2 separate regions of the Homo sapiens genome follow, and region 1 is linked to region 2. The links are contacts of gene promoters, found by promoter capture Hi-C in blood cells and fetal thymus (Javierre and others, 2016). All regions are on one chromosome and are shown on one strand. The core of a region is centred on a gene start or on the middle of the fragment in contact, and the rest is flanking DNA. Distances in the headings are between cores, read along the strand shown. Region 1 holds the start of RGL3 (ral guanine nucleotide dissociation stimulator like 3). Region 2 holds the start of ELAVL3 (ELAV like RNA binding protein 3).

Region 1 (3,901 bases), core at 115-2,614, 62 kb after region 2:
CGTTCCCACAGTAAATCTCCCCAGCTGGGTCCGCCCCGGCCTCAGAGTTGCGCAATAAATGTTACCGACCATGCCCCTGGGTATTCATCTGTTTTTGACCCTGCACCACCCAAGAGACGGCTGTCCCTGAAAACCCAGGGCCACAGACTGCCTCCTCCAACCTGGGTCATGATGACTCCCATCAGCTAGTGACGCAGATGGAGCTTAAAAATGGGAGATGGCCCGATGTAGTGGTTTTATGCCTGTAATCCCAGTATTTTGGGAGGCTGAGTTGGGAGGATCACTTGAGTCCAGGAGCTCCAGGCTGCAGTGAGCTATGATCGTGCTACTGCACTCCAGCCTGGGCCACAGAGCCAGACCCTGTCTCAATAAATAAAATAAGGGCGGGGTGCAGTGGCTCATTCATACCTATATTCCCAGCACTTTGGGAGGCTGAGCTGGGTGTGTCGCTTGAGCCCAGGGGTTCCAGACTAGCCTGGGCAACATGGTGAAAACCAGTTTTTACCAAAAAAAAAAAAAAAAAAAAAAAAAAAAAAAAAAAAGCTGAGCATGGTGGCATATGCCTGTAGTCCCAGCTACTTGGGAGACTGAGGCAGGAGAATGGATTGAACCCAGGAGGCGGAGATTGCAGTGAGCCAAGATCAAGCCACTGCACTGCAGCCTTGGCAACAGGAGTGAGACCCTGTCTCTAAAAAATAATAAGGCTGGGCGCCGTGGTTCATGCCTGTAATCCCAGCATTTTGGGAGGCTGAGGTGGGCGAATCTCTTGAGGCCAGGAGTTTGAGACCAGCCTGGCAAGTATGGCAAAACCCCGCCTCTACAAAAAATACAAAAATTAGCTGAGCATGGTGGCGGCACCTGTAATCCTAGCTACTTGGGAGGCTGAGGCACAAGAATCCTTTGAATCTGGGAGGCGGAGGTTGCAGTGAGTTAAGATCAAGCCACTGTACTCCAGCATGGGTGACAGAACGAGACTCCATCTCAAAATAATAGCAATAATAATAAAAAGTGGAAGATGCCCCCACACTTGATCAAGCTAGCCCCTTCCACTGGAGGACAGAGGACTCTGGTCTGGGGACACACACATGCCCCCACACAGGAGCTCCCCCACATCTGGGGATACAAAAAAGACCCCTTGGGGACAGATATGTCCTTTCTTCTGGGGACAGATTGATAGGCACCCAGCGGAAGAGCCAGGACCTCTCCTGGGCTGGCGCTGGGTCCGGCTGGAGGCACCCAGAGGCTGGGTCCGGCCTGCCCTGCCCCGCCCCGCCCCAGCAGCTCGGCCGCTCCGCCCCTCTGGCCTCAGCGCCCGGCCACTGCCCGCCGCCCGCCACCCGCCACCCGCCGGCCCTTCCGCCTCACTCAGCGGCGCCACTGAGAGGGACGGGCGCCGGCCATGGAGCGCACAGCAGGCAAAGAGCTGGCCCTGGTAAGGGGACAAGGGATCCCCGGACCCCGCATCCCTGGTGACCCGCAGGTCCAGAAACTCCAAGCGCCCGCCCGTCGGACGGTATCTGCTCCCAATCTGAACTTGCCCTGGAGTCCCCTCCTGGGGACTCGCGGCCCTTGACCCAGTGAAGCGACTGGTTCCTCTTAGGGATGGGGGCGCGAGTCTCTGAGCGCAGTCGGCAGAAAGAGCTAGAGACAGGTTCTATTAGACTGGGCCCTGGGACATCCCCAAATGCCACCCCATGTCCTCAGGACCTGGGAGGAGGGGACCCGCAGCGAGGAGGGGACTAGCCTGGGACCCCAGCCCTAGTCTCGCAGCTTCTGGCCGGGAAGGGGCGTGGGGATGCAGCAGGAGGACTCGGCCCGAGTCCGAGCGGCCAAGGAGGCTGAGGCCCCAGGACCTGTGCCCCTTTGGTGCCCTGAGTCCGCCTGTGCGTCCAGGCACCGCTGCAGGACTGGGGTGAAGAGACCGAGGACGGCGCGGTGTACAGTGTCTCCCTGCGGCGGCAGCGCAGTCAGCGCAGGAGCCCGGCGGAGGGCCCCGGGGGCAGCCAGGTGAGGAGGGGGTTTGGTGGGTGGCGCGGGGCCGGAAGCGACCAGTTGAGGGCGGAGCTGGAGAGCCGAGCACAGGCCGCCAGGTGCAGTGGGCGGAAGGAAGGGAGGGGCTCGGAGGCGACCAGATGAGGCGACCAGGTAGAAAGGGGACTGGGGGCGGCCAGGTAAGTGGGGGGAGATCCAGGGAATGGGGTGGGGCCAGGCGATGGCCGCGCAGTTCCCGAGAGGAGCCTAGGGACAACTTGGTAAGGACAGAACTGGACGGCAGAGTTGGGAAAGGCAGGTTTAGAGGGCCGGGGCTGGAAGGTGGAATGGGGTTGGTTTAGAAGTGGCTAGGTGAGGGCGGATGGGGCAGCCAGTGAAGCGCGACAGGAGGGCTGAGGGAAGCCCTGGGTGGAAAAGAGTGTGTGGGGCGGGGGCGGGGGGGTGGGGGGAGGGGACGGGAGGGGGAGGGGACGGGAGAGGGAGTAGGGGACAGGGCATGGGAGAGGGAGGGTTTCCAGGGCAAGTTGCAGGAGCTATTTGTGGATGGGGAGGAACAATAACTTCAAGCGGGCAGGGAGTGGGGCACACACCTATAATCCCTGCGCTTCGAGAGACCAAGGCAGAAGGCCAGGAATTGGAGACCAGCCTGGACAACACAGCAAGATTCTCTCTAATAAAAATAAAAATTAAAAAACTAGCTGTGCGTGATGATGCCCAGCAGTGGTCCCAGCTACTCAGGAGGCTGGGGCAGAGGGACCGCTTGAGTCTAGGACTTGGAGGCTGCAGTGAGCTATGATTGTGCCACTGCACCCCAGCCTGGGCAACAAAACAAGACCTGTTTCTAAAAAAAACAAACCAAAACAATAACTCCAAGAAGCCGGGAGACAGAGGAATCACATGAAAGAATGGTGCTACAGGCGGGGCGAGGTGGCTCACGCCTGTAATCCCAGCACTTTGGGAGGCCGAGGCAAGTGGATCATCAGGTCAGGAGTTCAAGACCAACCTGGCCAAGACGGTGAAACACCGTCTCTACTAAAAATACGAAAAAACTAGCTGGGCTTGGTGGCGGGTGCCTGTAATCCCAGATACTTGGGAGGCTGAGGCAGAGAATTGCTTGAACCCAGGAGGCGGAGGTTGCAGTGAGCCAAGATCACGCCACTGAACTCCAGCCTAGGTGACAGAGTGAGATTCTGTCTCAAAAAAAAAAAAAAAAAAGTGGTGCTAGGGGCTGGGCACGGTGGTTCACGCCTGTAATCCTAGCCCTTTGGGAGACTTTGGGAGGCCAAGGGGGGCAGATTACTTGAGGTCAGGAGTTCGAGACCAGTCTGACCAACATGGTGAAACCCTATCTCTACAAAAATACAAAAATTAGCTGGGCTTGGTGGTGTGCGCCTGTAGTTTCAGCTACTTGGAGGCTGAGGAAGGAGGATTGCTTGAACCCAGGAGGCAGAAGTTGAAGTGACCCAAGATCGTGCCACTGCACTCCAGCCTGGGCAACAGAGTGAGACTCTGTCTCAAAAAAAAAAACAAAAAAAAAAAGAGTGGTGCTAGTGATGAATGTGACTAGAGAAGGGGTGCTGTGAGGACCACTCCTGCTCTCTCATGGCCACCTCTCCCCTCCTGCAGGCTCCCAGCCCCATTGCCAATACCTTCCTCCACTATCGAACCAGCAAGGTGAGGGTGCTGAGGGCAGCGCGCCTGGAGCGGCTGGTGGGAGAGTTGGTGTTTGGAGACCGTGAGCAGGACCCCAGCTTCATGCCCGCCTTCCTGGCCACCTACCGGACCTTTGTACCCACTGCCTGCCTGCTGGGCTTTCTGCTGCCACCAATGCCACCGCCCCCACCTCCCGGGTCAGTAGCGAACCATAACCTCCGTATTCTCCACCCTAGAACCCCAACTGGGCACCCCC
Region 2 (3,585 bases), core at 955-3,454:
TCCCGGAACTCAGGACCCTAATTTCCACTTCCTCCTGTTTTATGGGGCACCCATCTCCCACCCTCAGTGAGCTCCGGGATGAGATGGGGAGGTGTTCAGTAAACCCCTAAAATGAGAAACATTTGCAGCTAGCGACAAGCGCCATGCAAAAGAGAGAGTGATGCGTTGTTTTCCGGGGATGCTGTTTAGGTCGGTGGTCAGGGAGGGCCTCTGAGGAGGTGGCATTTGCGCATAGACCAGAATGACAAAGATCTATCCCAGAAGAAAGCTGGGGGAGGAAATTCTCAGGCCAGAGGAACAACCAGTGCCAAAACCCCGAGGTAGAACTAGCTCGGCGTGTTCCTAAAACAGGAAGCCGCGGGGGGAAGGGGAGTTGGCGGCGGCTGCCCTGGCCCCATTTCCCGGAGGAGGATGCTGAGGCCGCCGCCTCCTGCGGGCCGCTAGAGAGAGGGGCGGGGAGCGAGGCGCGGCCGCTAGGTGGCGTGCGAGGCGCGTAGGCCCTGGTGGCCGCAGCCACGTGACCCTGGGGACCGCAGCCGCGAGCTCAGGCACGTGCCCGGGGGAGCCCTGTGGCGCCACGCGCAGATTGGCCCCGCCGGTTCCTCACCAGTTCGGGGGATGAGGCGGGGCCCCAGCTATGCCTCAGTTCCTGCTGCGGACCGGGGGGCTACCCCAGCCGGGGACAGAAGAATCGGCAAGGATGAGCGAGTCCGGCCGCTGGGGCCGCCCCCGCGAGCTCCCTCCCCCCGCGAGGCAGGTCCCCTCCACTCTCCCCGCACTGCCGGAGCCGGCAGGTTTCCATGGGAACCGCAGCGGGGTCCGCGCGCCCAGGAGCAGCCCCCCTCCTAGCTCAGTTTCCGATGACGGAAACCGGGAGGAACACGGGGTGGGGAACAGACCATCGCTTGGGGCCCCTAGCGCCCGCAGCCAGGTCGCCCCGGCGAGCCCAAGAGGGGCCACCCGGGGATCTGCACCGCCACCGCCCCTATTGCGCGGGCCACTGCGATTGGCCTGCCCTTTCCAGGCGTGGCAGCATCCCCTGGTGCGCGCACTCCCATTGGCTCGATCTCTAGGGCATCTTCCAGTAACTGGTTATCTCAAGGGCCGCCCCTGATTGGGCAAATTAGGCTCTCCTCGCTGGTGGCGCTCTCTGACAGTCTGGAGCCTAAAGGGCGTGCAGGAACGAGGATTGGGTGGGGACTGCCGCTCTCCAGTTAGGGGGTCTGGGCTACCTCGCCGGCAGCGCCCTCGACCGGACTGTCGGATTGCTGTCTGTGGTGCTGAAGCCTCACGCCCTGGCGACCCCGCCCCAGTGTGTGCTAGTTCCCGCGCCCCGACGTAAACATGCACCGGCGCCCGCGCACCAAAGGAGGCTGCGCCACCCCCAACGCCTTAGAGAGAGGCCAGGTTCCCCCTAGCAGAGAGCGAGCATGACTCCACAGTCAGGAGGACCAATCACGAGCCTAGAAAGCCAGGACATTTATGTGGCAGATCCACCCACCCCAGTTCTGTGGGGTCCAAGAAGGATCCGTGGTTTCCCAGAGCTGCATGGCTCCAGCGATGATTGTCCAGAACACTGAGCCCCAAACCTTTTCACCCCCTTCGGAGCAGTGCGGAGTTTCCTTGCACTGGGGAGTGCCAGTCCTTACCTTTTGAACCCTAGAAGGATCCAGCTCACTCAAAACCAACAGCGTCCCAGTCTCCTTCTGCAGAAGACTAGGGCCACAGTAGCCACCCTCCCCCGTGGTCTTGAGGTGGTCTACACTGGTGCCTCCAAATCTGGGGACCCAGGCCTCTGCCTACTAAAATATTGGTTCCTGATCCCCTGTCCAGTTCCCTCAGTGGACAACACCTCTGGAAGGTCGCATATTCAGGCCACTAATACCTCCTCGCTCTGTTGGCTCCTCCAGCTCTAGGAGCTGGACGGAGGAGGGGAGCCCGTCTCCTGGCCCGAAAGCCAGCCCAAGAAGGGGTGCCAGGGTAGGAAGCAAGGGCCTCGAGGGAAGGAGGGCCCAAATCTGGCAACCCGAGCACCTAGGATGCGCTTTTGGGGGATTCAGAGTCCCGACCAGTGCGCGCTCACTTCCACCTGCCGCGCCGTCGGGAGCCGCGAGGAGGCGGAGCTCGGTCGCCGCAGCCAATGAGCGACGCCGGCGCTGGCAGCTGCTGCTATAAAGGGCTGGGGGCGGCGGCGGCGCGGTCCAGAGCGCGGAGCGCGCAGCGCGGGCCGGAGGGAGGGAGGGAGGGTGGGCGAGGGGAGAGGACTTGAACACACGGGACCGGACAGGACCGACCGAGGGGCGGCGGCGAAAGGCAGAGCGCCGCGATCTCTGTCGGGAAGCGCAACCTCCCCGGGCCCCGCGGGGCCGCGCAGGGGGCGTCCTCAACCCCGCGCCCGCTCCCTCTTTCCATCCCCTGCCGCCCGCAGGCCACCCCGGGGCCCGGCCATCCGCGCGCGCATCCCCGGGTTCGGGCCCGTCCCTGGCCCTCGAGGGAGCCGCCGCCTTCATCGCCACATCTGCAGCGGCCGCACCAGAGGCCGCCCGGGCGGGACCCCAGCGTGAGCATCGGGCGCCCCCCTAGGAGTGCACCACCCCCGGAGCCCCCCTCAACACGGACCGCGCCCGCCGGGCACACAAGAATGGTCACTGTAGGTATTCCCCTGTCGCCGAAAGGGAATCGGGACGGGGAGGAGTTGGGCCCAGGCTCCGCGGAGATTGGGCGGGTGCGGCGGGGGGGGTAGGACCAGGCCTAGCTAGGCCCGGGTTGGGGGGGTAGGACCAAGCCTCGGGGCCTGAGAGTGGGCAGGGCCGCGCCCAGAGTGCTGAGGGCGCTTAGAGCTTGGTCTGAGAGGGCCTTAGGGAGACTGACTGCGATTCGGGAGGCGTCCGACGCCGCCCTGGAGGCGGGATTGCCCCCTCTCCAGCAGGCCTGATGGGGGAGGGGCCGCGGCGGCTAAGGATGCTTCCTCCATCCAGGCCCAGACCCCGCAGGCCGCCCAGGCAAACGCAGGGCCCGATCACTGGTGCTGGGCCAAGCCAAAGCGACAAAGCGTCCCCGAGAGCCCTGGGAAAGCGGGTGGCGTCGGATCGCGCGCCCCGGGCCTCGGCCGCACCCGGGAGGCGGGCGTCTCGTCCTCGAGCCCGTCGACCTTGCGGCAAGCGGGGAGGGGAGAGGAGGGGGCGCGCCCGGAGGCCCCGCGGGCCCGCCGCCGCTGCTGCCGCGTCCCTTTGTTTCTCGGCGCTTCTTCGCGGGCCGCAGCCTCGCGCGGGCGCCTCGGGCTGCGGGGAGGGGGAGGGGAGAGGAGGGCCCGCGGGTTGGGGGGGCACCTCTGGGCTCCCGGGTCTCCGCCCCCCGGGAGATGGGGTGGGAGGCCGAGACAGCCCCCTTAGGCCAGGTCCAGGCTCCCCACCTCGCCAAGGCTCTGGGCCGCGAGGTGACCTTGAGCGCGGCCCGCCCGCCTGCTCGCCCGCACCGCTAGCCCCGCGCTCGGTGCTTTCAGCAGCCACGGAGCTGGTCAGCTCCCGAGCGCGCAGCCCCTCCCGCCCTGCCACGCCCTGCCTGGCCACGCCCGGGCACGCCCAT

Evidence for each region. The method cuts DNA at HindIII sites, captures the fragments that hold promoters and counts their contacts. A CHiCAGO score of 5 or more calls a contact.
Region 1: the fragment with the promoter of RGL3 here is called in contact with the fragment with the promoter of ELAVL3 in region 2 in 1 of 17 cell types (erythroblasts); the score reaches 5.3 in erythroblasts.

What each region holds. Positions count from the first base shown.
Region 1 is chr19:11,416,777-11,420,677 of GRCh38, reverse strand. RGL3 (ral guanine nucleotide dissociation stimulator like 3) reads left to right here and starts at 1,364. Exons shown (of 19, transcript NM_001035223.4): 1 at 1,364-1,432; 2 at 1,894-2,007; 3 at 3,619-3,842. The coding sequence starts at 1,400. It overlaps ODAD3 (outer dynein arm docking complex subunit 3), which reads left to right. Exons shown (of 13, transcript NM_145045.5): 13 at 1-73. The HindIII fragment of the contact is 8,157 bases long and covers 1-3,901 here.
Region 2 is chr19:11,479,665-11,483,249 of GRCh38, reverse strand. It overlaps ELAVL3 (ELAV like RNA binding protein 3), which reads left to right and starts at 2,204. Exons shown (of 7, transcript NM_001420.4): 1 at 2,204-2,650. The coding sequence starts at 2,642. RefSeq lists silencers at 398-837, 868-1,117, 3,492-3,585. The HindIII fragment of the contact is 20,383 bases long and covers 1-3,585 here.